Regions from separate parts of the Homo sapiens genome. Here regions 1 and 3 are each linked to region 2. Evidence: promoter capture Hi-C in 16 types of primary human blood cells and fetal thymus (Javierre and others, 2016). All regions are on one chromosome and are shown on one strand. Each heading gives the region's core, a stretch centred on a gene start or on the middle of the fragment in contact. The rest is flanking DNA. Distances are from core to core; before and after follow the strand shown.

Region 1 (3,429 bases), core at 367-2,866, 220 kb before region 2:
TATTAGTATTTTGGCCAGTCTTTAAGGTGTCAGCTTTTTCCACTTTTGTAAAAAAAAAAAAAAAAAAAAAAAAGGATATTCATGAGTTAGCTAAGGTTCCTAGGGATATATAAGAATGTATGGTGATTTCTAAACTTGCTTTTTCATTTTTTTTCTTATACCATCAAATCATTTTCTCAGAACTAGTAAGGCCAAATACTTAGATAAAATCTTTTGCCAGTTCCTTACTTAAGATTTCCATTTCTTCTTTAATCAAAATCTATATACATAGTACCTCTTTACTTCTTAAACCTTCTGATATAAATGTTTAGGAATTGTTCTACATGTTTTATTACATTAATCTTCACAGCAACTCTGTTAGGAACTTATTGTCTCCATTTACACATGTGGAAAGCAAGGCTAAGAAAGGTTAAAAACTCAGTCAAGACCAATTCTGGTACTAATAGTCAGGATCAGGATTTAAACTCCTGTAAGTAGCTCCAAAGCCCATTTTCTTTCCATTTTACCATGCTGGTATATGATCAGAGTTGATCACGTTTTTTTTGTTTTTTTGTTTTTTTTTTTTGAGACAGAGTCTTGCTCTGTCCGCCAGGCTGGAGTGCGGAGTGCAGAGTGCAGTGGCGTGATCTGGGCTCACTGCAAGCTCCGCCTGCCGGGTTCACGCCATTCTCCTGCCTCAGCCTCCCAAGTAGCTGGGACTACAGGCGCCCACCACCATGCCCGGCTAATTTTTTGTATTTTTAGTAGAGACAGGGTTTCACCGTGTTAGCCAGGAAGGTCTTGATCTCCTGACCTTGTGATCCACCCGCCTCGGCCTCCCAAAGTGCTGGGATTATAGGCTTGAGCCACCGCGCCCGGCGCCTGATCATGTTTTTTGATCACAGGTCTGACTGAATGAATTCAAAGCCCAAGTTTCCATCAGTGAAAGGGGCTCTTTATTTTTTTCTATAGCTAGCTTATTGTAAAATTACTGATTTTTTTGTATATAAGTTAGACTTGTAGGATGTGAAATGTCAGGAGTGCTGAATTTACTGGCTAGATTGTTAAACCCTAAATTAAATCCCAGGAGGCTAGCTGGGGGGTCTCCTGACTGTTCTGTTTATATAAATGGATATTTCAGATACCAGACTCTGACAGAGACAATTTCAGTGACTGAAAAGTTTATGGAAGGCTTGTTACTAAATTTAGTATCATTTTTCAGGAAGGAAAATCCCTAATGGTTTGGAACAGGACTGAAAAAGAATTTAACTCTAAAGGGTAGATAAGCTTTAAATGTTAAATTGATTAGAGGTCAGGTGTGTATTTCCTACCTCTCTTGGGATAGCCATGGGAGGGAACCTCCAGGCCTGCTGCCCAGTGGTTTTTGCTGAGAGAGCAGCTGGATCAGCATTCTGGAAGGTAGTTTGGTTTGCTGAGGGAGTCTTGTGAGACTCAGCATCTTTCTTGACAAAATACTTCATCTAAACCTTGTACTTTGTTTGCCTTATTTCAGCCTTTTGTACACAGCAAAACAGGAAGGAAAATTAGTAGGCTGACCATATAATTATAGGTGTATATTTTTTAGTTTGGACTGATTACACAGGACTCTAAATGAGATAGCATAGAGCAGGAAAAAAGTTGATGGAATCCCAAGAGGTTAATTGAATTGGAAACTAGTGTATGTGAAGAGTAATACCATTTAGCTCCCAAAGTAATGAAACTTGGCATAAAGGAAAATTAAGTTGACTGATTTGAGATATGGAGAGAAATTGGATGTAAATGTAAAGGAATTATCTTCAGTCATAACTTTTTTTGAGTCTCTATTTACAAATTAAGAGAATTTATTTTGTGAAGGTTCTTTTAACAGAATTCCTTTGAGGTTTAAAAAGGACAAAGTACAATTCAAGTGGCAGGGCTGTCAAAAGCCACTTTGATTGAATTGTATACATGCTTAGTTAGAATGAGGAAATTGGATTGTTTGACTGAAAAAGCTTTGTTTCCTCCTCAGCTTCAGCCTCTTTCCATGTGCGTTCCTGAAGCTATGTGTGGGATATTAGTATAGAGGAAGGGGAGGTCTTCTCACCTCTTTCCATTTTTCCCCCCGCCATAAGTTCACAAAGTTTTTCACATTAGAAACTGTTAAAACATAAACAACTTTTCTGGAACCAAATTAATCTTTTGACTTCATGGTTCATACCGTGTGACACTGGAGTTTGGGCAGGAGGGTGGAGATACAAGGTGTTTGGACCCTTCTGGTTTATGGGATTGTCTTTTTCCCTTTTTCCCCTTAGGAACCACGTGAATGTTGAGGGGGCGACACACAAGCAGGTGGTGGACCTGATTCGAGCAGGCGAGAAGGAATTGATCTTGACAGTGTTATCTGTACCTCCTCATGAGGCAGATAACCTAGATCCCAGTGACGACTCGTTGGGACAATCATTTTATGATTACACAGAAAAGCAAGCAGTGCCCATATCGGTCCCCAGATACAAACATGTGGAGCAGAATGGTGAGAAGTTTGTGGTGAGTGTCAGCCCAACTCGATCCTCGAACATCTAGCTTTGTTTCCCCTAGTCTTATAATTATGAAACTATTATAGTGGTAGATAAAAGGCTGCAACCTAGGTCAGTTTGTCTACCAGGAGGATGAGTTCACACATAAATAAAAGACACTGACCCTGATTTATTGCAGGGGGTGAATTACAGTAGTGGAAAAGAGTCCTACTCAGCTTGAGTATAATTCCATTTTATTTTTAGATAGTTTCAAGTTTGCATTCTGGTTTGTCGTAAACGTGTGAGTTTTTGTTTAGTTTCTTTTTTGTTTGTTCTTTTGTTGGTTGCCGTATCTCTTTGCTAATAGTATCTTATTTACTGTTGATTCTGTGGTGCTATAGGGCAAGATTAATGTAAAAGGATGGTGTCCTTCAAGATATTTGGGTAATAGAGAGGTTCACCCATTTCAGAACTTAGATGTCTCTACTCTTCTTTCCACATCATGTTCTTTTTCATTTTCTTTGGAGATATCCGTGTGAATGATTAACTGTGGTTTTTCCCACGAGTTTCCTGAATGCAATTCCCATGAGCTGTTTCACACATTTCTAATCTGTTGCTGTTGTAGCTATGCAGGAAAGCCCATCTTGAATTTTTAGTGATGTGTGCTAGCCCCTTTGCTGAATGCCTTTGTTCTTCAGAGCCTAATTGCCACTGATAGCTCAGTCTACTTAATTTTTCTTTTGGTTGCAATATGCTTTATTTGCCTTTAATTATTTGTGGAGTGTTGATATAATGAGAAATGTTCATTATTCTTAGTAGAAAATGCAGTGGGTTCTGTTAGATGCTGGCAAACAGACTACAGGTTTTAAAGCTTAACAGTTGACTAAAGTTACAGTCTCTAAAACTGAGATTTATCCTCTGCATAGGAACGAGCTACTAAACATTTATGGTAAATTCT
Region 2 (3,456 bases), core at 260-2,759:
CTTAGAACACAGGGAAGGGCGGCTGGGGTGTGTGTACTCATGGTCCTGTCCTTACCTGAGGAAACTGCCAGTCCAGATGGGAGCTTGAGTCCCCGGATGTGGTCTCTGTTGGACTTGAAGGAGGGCAGCTTGATCCAGCCGCTAGACTTAGTCTTCTCCAGAAATTCTTGGTACAGGCTCAGCATGTCCGAACACCAGCTGGCATTGGGAAGAGCATAATCCTTCAAGTCTGTCTTCTCTGGCAAGAATCTTGAGAACTGGGCAGGAAAAATCAGAATGACTAGACAGCATCCTGGAGGGGGGCTGCTGCCTGGGCTCGGGACCTCTAAACAGCTGTTCCTGGGTGCTGGGGCTTCTCAATCCCTTCTGCCAGAGTATCGATCCAAGGGAAAGGGCCCATATTCCTTGCAGGGGGGCTGCGGACCCCTATGGGTGACGGGGCATAAGGATGCTAAAGAGCAAGGGAAGGGCGGGCAGGGAGTGGGGCCAGAGATGATGGGCATGCTGCTCGATGTGGTGCCTTACCCTTGTTCTGCTTAAAACATGTGAGCAGTTCTTTAAAGTTGACAACTGCTCATATTAGCCTCACTGTACAGATGGGGAAACTGAGGGAATACGGCCAAGGTTGCCAAGCATGTGACTGTGAGAGCTGGTGGTCGCACTAGATGCTGTCTCCTCTGCAGGGCAGGGTCACAGTTGTTGAGGACCATTCTAGCAACCCCCACCTCAGGGGCTACTCCAGCTCTGCCCACTGCTGTGGGCCTGCCTGGGCAGGGTGGCTCCTTTGAAACACATTTGGGCCCCCACAGAGGTGTGGTGCCATGGCTGGGGCACAGACTATGTGCCCATCTGTGTGACGTAAGGAAGTCCTCTGTAGCGTCACCTGCTCATACACCAGTCACAACTGTAGACAGCATGTGAGCTGCTTGCCAATGCCACAGATGGGGTCCTCTGTCTGGGGATACCCCAGCTTTGCTGCAGTAGTCTGAGTCCCACAGGAGGAAAGTCATTTGTTGGTGGCCACACAAGACACAGAGCCAGATGCAGGTCTCCTGGTAGTTTTAGTTTTGAATGGGGGCAACTTGGTATCCCAGAGCACTTTCTCTTTGCCAAATCAAATAGCTCCTCCGAACACTGCCCACCTGCCCTGGCCATGGGCTGGGAAGAGGAGATTTGGGGTGCTCCTTAAGCCCTAGGCTCCTGGGAAAACACTGCCCATCTGGCTGAGCTGGGAACTCACCATGGAGTCTGTGGAGGATCCAAATGCTGAGGCAGGGTTGAGTCTGGGCAGGATACGGGGGGCCTCAAGAAGGCCTCTGTGGTGGCCAAGTCTTGCTGCCACCTGGAAGCATCTCCTTATCATGGCCAAGTGCAAGGATCCAGCCCTGCTTGGATGGAGGGTCTTGGCTGACTCCCAAGGAGTGCTTTCAGCTGCACTTGGGGCCGCTTCTCTCCCTTCTGTTGCAGGCTTTCTTTCAGAGAGCTAGGCGAGGCTGGGCTGGTGTGCTGCAACACCCACAGATGCTCGGCGCCTTTAGCTGGTCTAGGAGCCCCACCCAGTGCTTGGGGAGGGACAGATGCTGCTTGGGCATGAAAAGGCAGCAGGACTGGCTTGAGTTGCAAAAGGAGTAAACAAGTACATAAACAAATAGTATGGGGTATATAGAGCCTTGGAGAGCTGCCTGGGGGTTCTGAGGGAGAATCCAAGAATATTTCCAGAAGGATAAGGGAAGCCTGTCCCTTGATTGGAGGGTGCTGGTGGAGTGTTCTTGGTATGTGCTCTGCAGTGTATACCGGACTCTGAAAACTCTGGTATGATTTTGTGACTCAGAAAACCAACTCACAGGCCGGGTGCGGTGGCTCACGCCTGTAATCCCAGCACTTTGGGAGGCCGAGGCGGCGGATTACGAGGTTAGGAGATCGAGACCATCCTGGCTAACACGGTGAAACCCCGTCTCTACTAAAAAAAATACAAAAAATTAGCCGGGCGTGGTGGCGGGTGCCGGTAGTCCCAGCTACGCAGGGGGCTGAGGCAGGAGAATGGCGTGAACCTGGGAGGTGGAGCTTGCAGTGAGCTGAGATCTAGCCACCGCACTCCAGCCTGGGCGACTGAGCGAGACTCCGTCTCAAAAAAATAAAAATAAAAAAATAAAAAAAAAGAAAACCAACTCACAGCCTTAGACACCTCTTTTTTTTTTTTTTTTTTTTTTTTGGTGAGACGGAGTTTCAATCTTGTCGCCCAGGCTGGTGTGCAATGGCGTGATCTCGGCTCACTGCAACCTCCGCCTCCTGGGTTCAAGTGATTCTCCTGCCTCAGCCTCCTGAGTAGCTGGGATTACAGACACACACCACCACACCCAGCTAAATTTTGTATATTTTTTTTAGTAGAGATGGGGTTTTGCCATGTTAGCCAGGCTGGTCTTGAACTCCTGACCTCAGGTGACCTCCCAAAGTGCTGGGATTACAGGCGTGAGCCACCGCACCCGGCCAACACCTCTTCTTATATCCCGGACAAGGGTTAGCACAGGAGAGTTTCACCTGCTGGTCTCTGGCTGGGGATAGGAGTTGGAGGTGGGGGAGGGCTTGACAGGGAGGGCAGAAAATAATTTGGGAGGAAACAGCTTGGCAGGGATACTCTCATGTTTTGGGAACCCCGTGCCCAGGGAGTGGCTCATGTCAGCAGGCAGTGCTGGGAGTGAGGTGGGCGCGGCAGTGAGGCTTTGTTGAGTGGGAAGGGACACTCAGCCAACATCTGCAAGGCAGTGGGATTTGGTGGTGGTGTGTCTTCTATTGAATTTAAACTGCCAATTTTCAATTAAAAGTCTCAGTTTTAAATTGACTAAAATAAAAGCATGTTCTAAAGATCAGTCCTCGCGCAGTGGCTCAAGGCTGTAATCTCAGCATTTTGGGAGGCCGAGTGAGACCTTGTCTTAAAAAAAAAAAAATCAGAACTGTGCAAAGGTGGAATCATAACAGTGATGATGACGATAATAATAGTTGTGATGATTATGACATTTTGGCAGGTTCCAAAAGATGAAACTGATTTAATGCGGAAATTTAAAAGATTTGGTTCACCCTCTGTATTTGGTTGCCCTAGAAGAAGACTAGAATATAAATATTTCCCCTCACCTCCTGCAAAGGTTTGAATTAAACTTCCTCAAGGACTGGGGGAACCATTTTTTTTTGTTGTTGTTATTTTGTCAGAGTCTCACTCTTATTGCCCAGGAGTGCAGTGGCACCATCTCGGCTCACTGCAACCTCTGCCTCCCAGGCTCAAGCAATTCTCCTGCCTCAGCCTCCCAAGTAGCTGGGATTACAGGCGCTTGCTACTACGCCCGGCTAGTTTTTATATTTTTAGTAGAGACGGGGTTTCATCATGTTGGCCAGGCTGGTCTCAAACTCCTGGCCTTGGCTGATCTGCCTGCCTCAGCGTCCCAAAGTGCTGGGATTACAGGC
Region 3 (3,212 bases), core at 481-2,980, 130 kb after region 2:
CACTGATTTAACTGGGCAAAACTGTGCCCAGTAATTATAAACTTACCATCTATTCCTGTAGAGCCTTCTCCTAATCCTTCAAGTTTGAGTCCTTCATATAGACACAGCTACAAGGGCAGAACAATTAGAGAAGTCAGACTCCAAGCCTGAATGAAGAGTGTTTTCTCATTTTGCCAGTTCTGTGAGAAAAGCTCTGCTGTGTAAGAAAAGCTCTGCTGTGTGCTGGCTGCCCAAGGGCAAGCTGCCTCTTGGGGAACAAGAATTTCTGAGGGAACAACAAACATTCTGTCTCAAATTTGGAACTAAAAAAGAACTTTATTTATTGAGGGCAAGGGGATGCAAACAATACAAAAATCAAAAGCTTATCTGGTATTTAACTTTTCTTTCTCTGCTTGTCAAATGAGAGTTAGATTTTATTTTTACATTTGCTAAGTGTCCTGATCTGCTCATGAAATCCTTCTATGGGGGAAGCTGTGGGGCAGATTCCTTAAGCGACCCTTTGGGACAACTCTTATCAGGGAGGAGCGAACTGCTCATTTCTGCCTACTTCTTTCCCTTCTGCTTCATGTGTACTACAAAATAGTCATTGCATGCAATGGTGAGGCCCGCAATTAGGGAAAAGAAGCTCTGGAAGCCCACTTTGCCATCTCTACACTGGTCCAGGTCCTTCATTATTTTGTCCACAGCCAGAGGGTCTTTTTGATTCTGAAAAAAAAAAGAACAAAGGCAAGAAATAGAAGTCAAAGGTTGCAATGAGGAGCTTATTTGATTTGTACTGCTGAGAACTGTGTATATATCTCCCAATTACTTGAGCTCTTGTTTTAGGTCATAAGCAACCTTTGGAGTTCATCTAAATGTATTTTTTTTTTTTTTTGCCTTGTGGGAGCATTTCAGTAATTTCATATTTAGATTCTGCCTAAGAACCACCCTAAGCTCCTCATTTTATGGTTTAAACTTACATTCTCTTATTAAAATTTTATTCCTAATGGCATGGTCAAATCCCTTACAAAGGAAACTCCTTATGAAAAGATATTTATGATTTAGGGAATAAGTTTTGGATCACTGTCCTATGGATTTTAAAGAGGTGTTAATGATGCCATGGGTTGGTTTTAGGTTTGGAGAAGGCAGCTCTCATTCTTGGCACAGCTGAGGACAAGCTAGTGTGGCTTCATATCATATTAGCCACGTGATGCTGAGTGAACCACACAGCTTAGTGGGCCTTTGTGTATCAACGATGAATTGAGGAGGTTGGACTATAATGTTTCTAGAATCCTTTCATTCTTTGAGTTGGTAAGTCTATGCCATCCTATACTCTTCACTGGATGTTGTACACTGGACCAGTTTCAAAAGGAGTATGTGGGATGGAGTCTTAAACTCCCCATGACTCTCAGTGCCTGGTAAGAATGTATGGAACAGAGATGGGCAGGCAAGACCCCCTTTGCTTTTATCTTGCTTACATGGTGATTGGCTTCAGCACTCCTTTTTGTAGTGATGCTGGTCAGAAGCGGTAAGGTGTGGTTTTTCCTGTAGGGTCCATGCCATCAACCAGAGAGAGAAATATGGCCTATTTGAGGTTGTTAAAGGGCTCAGGTAAACTATTTATGAATTCTGATGACTATATTCATGAGTGAGGAAAATGATACGCAGTGTTTCAAGTGTGCTAGATGTTTCTAAATTGCACTCAGAAATTCCTAAAAGTATAGCAGCAGCATTTCCCACATGAGCACTGCAAACTCCTACTCTAGCTAAACGTGCTCTATGCAGCTCTTGGTGGGTTTCAGCTAATTCTGGCTTCACCCTCAGCTTCCTGGCTGTGGTCAGAATGAGTGAAATCTGGATGACATAAGAGGTCTACTTTAGAAACAAAATGCTCTGTTAATGCAGTGAGTCTAGATGTTTCCAGAATTATGACTCTGTGCCTGGAATAAATTACCCTGCCATGGTTAGTGCTCCACACTACATATACCCTTTATGTGTCTGATGCCACAAAGCCTTTAGGAAGAAAGGGTCTGTGTCTTACATGATACTCACTCTGGCTCTTAACAACACTCTTAACAAGTGTTTAGTGTACTGAGAATGCCTTTGTCTATAGGACAGGCAGGCTTACAATGAGCACATTTTGTCCTTGCATCTTAATGCTTGTCTTGAATGATCATAGAAAGTGAAAGTGACCTTGCAGATAATTATGTCCAGCCCTCTCTAATTTTACAGGGGAGGAAACTGAAGACTAGAGAGCTGAAGCAACCTGCCCATTGTTAGTTAAGGCAGAGCCAGATCTTCTAACTCCTGGTCTGGGGCTATATCACAGGACTCTACAAAAGCAGAGGACCTGCATATTCTAACTCATTCTGGGATAGCATTAGGTAATAACTGCAGCTCTGAGAGAGCAGTTAGGCTATTTATATCTGTTTATTTAACTGATATTGATGACATACGAATTATAGTATACTAAAAAGCCTCATGTTTATTGATTGCAGGAGTCAGGGGCTGGACTAATGTGCCGTTTACCAGTCAGATGACAAGAGGCAGGACCCAACGTTTTACCGTATCTCCTCTCACCCTTTACAGGTTAATGCATTATTCAACACCAAGCACAGAAACAATCTTTTCAGGTGACTACAATTGTGGTAGGGAAAGAAGGGCTTGCATTTCAGTCTACTATTTTGTCATGCAATGTTGCACCTTCAGTTGAATTCAACAGCCACCTCTCGAGAACCTGGAATATAAAAGGACAACTGTGCCTTGTGGCCCCATGTCCTGAGTGATGTATCTGAGCTGATGGCAGAGTCCTCTTATAGGTCTTCATGCATCTCTCAGTCTGTCAAAGGTGAGACATAAATTCAAACTGCTCCTGTGCTGTCAGAGCATTATTATGTGAAAAGCAGTTATTTCTGGAGTGATATGTGGCTTTTATTCAGTAGATGACTGACACTGCTCCTTTGTAGTATTAGAAAAAGAAAAAACAATCCCTTTATCTGAAGAGATTTAAGAAGGGAGATTCGAGTTGCTCAAAATGGAATGTGACCAGGATGTGGCATCTCCACCACCAGGTTTTTGGACCTGAAGGTAGCCATTTTCTGGTTGACTACTCTTTTGTGAAAAGCTTTCTTTCTCCCAACTCTGTCCCCAACATCGTCACAACAGACACAGATAACCCGATGGAATTTTCCAACAAACAGCTCATATTGTGGTTATTTGTATGCAGTCTTATT

What was found. The method cuts DNA at HindIII sites, captures the fragments that hold promoters and counts their contacts. A CHiCAGO score of 5 or more calls a contact.
Region 1: a fragment that was not itself captured here is called in contact with the fragment with the promoter of THEM5 in region 2 in 1 of 17 cell types (M1 macrophages); the score reaches 5.5 in M1 macrophages.
Region 3: a contact is called between a fragment that was not itself captured here and the fragment with the promoter of THEM5 in region 2, in 1 of 17 cell types (non-activated CD4 T cells). The highest score is 5.7, in non-activated CD4 T cells.

What each region holds. Positions count from the first base shown.
Region 1 is chr1:151,636,618-151,640,046 of GRCh38, forward strand. It overlaps SNX27 (sorting nexin 27), which reads left to right. Exons shown (of 12, transcript NM_001330723.2): 2 at 2,271-2,502. Among named protein-coding and RNA genes, the nearest start is that of SNX27, 26 kb to the left of the region's middle. The HindIII fragment of the contact is 704 bases long and covers 1,265-1,968 here.
Region 2 is chr1:151,852,203-151,855,658 of GRCh38, forward strand. THEM5 (thioesterase superfamily member 5) reads right to left here and starts at 1,510. Exons shown (of 6, transcript NM_182578.4): 1 at 1,241-1,510; 2 at 56-257. The coding sequence starts at 1,363. The HindIII fragment of the contact is 9,012 bases long and covers 1-3,456 here.
Region 3 is chr1:151,982,620-151,985,831 of GRCh38, forward strand. S100A10 (S100 calcium binding protein A10) reads right to left here. Exons shown (of 3, transcript NM_002966.3): 3 at 296-705. The coding sequence ends at 544. Among named protein-coding and RNA genes, the nearest start is that of S100A10, 9.6 kb to the right of the region's middle. The HindIII fragment of the contact is 2,742 bases long and covers 360-3,101 here.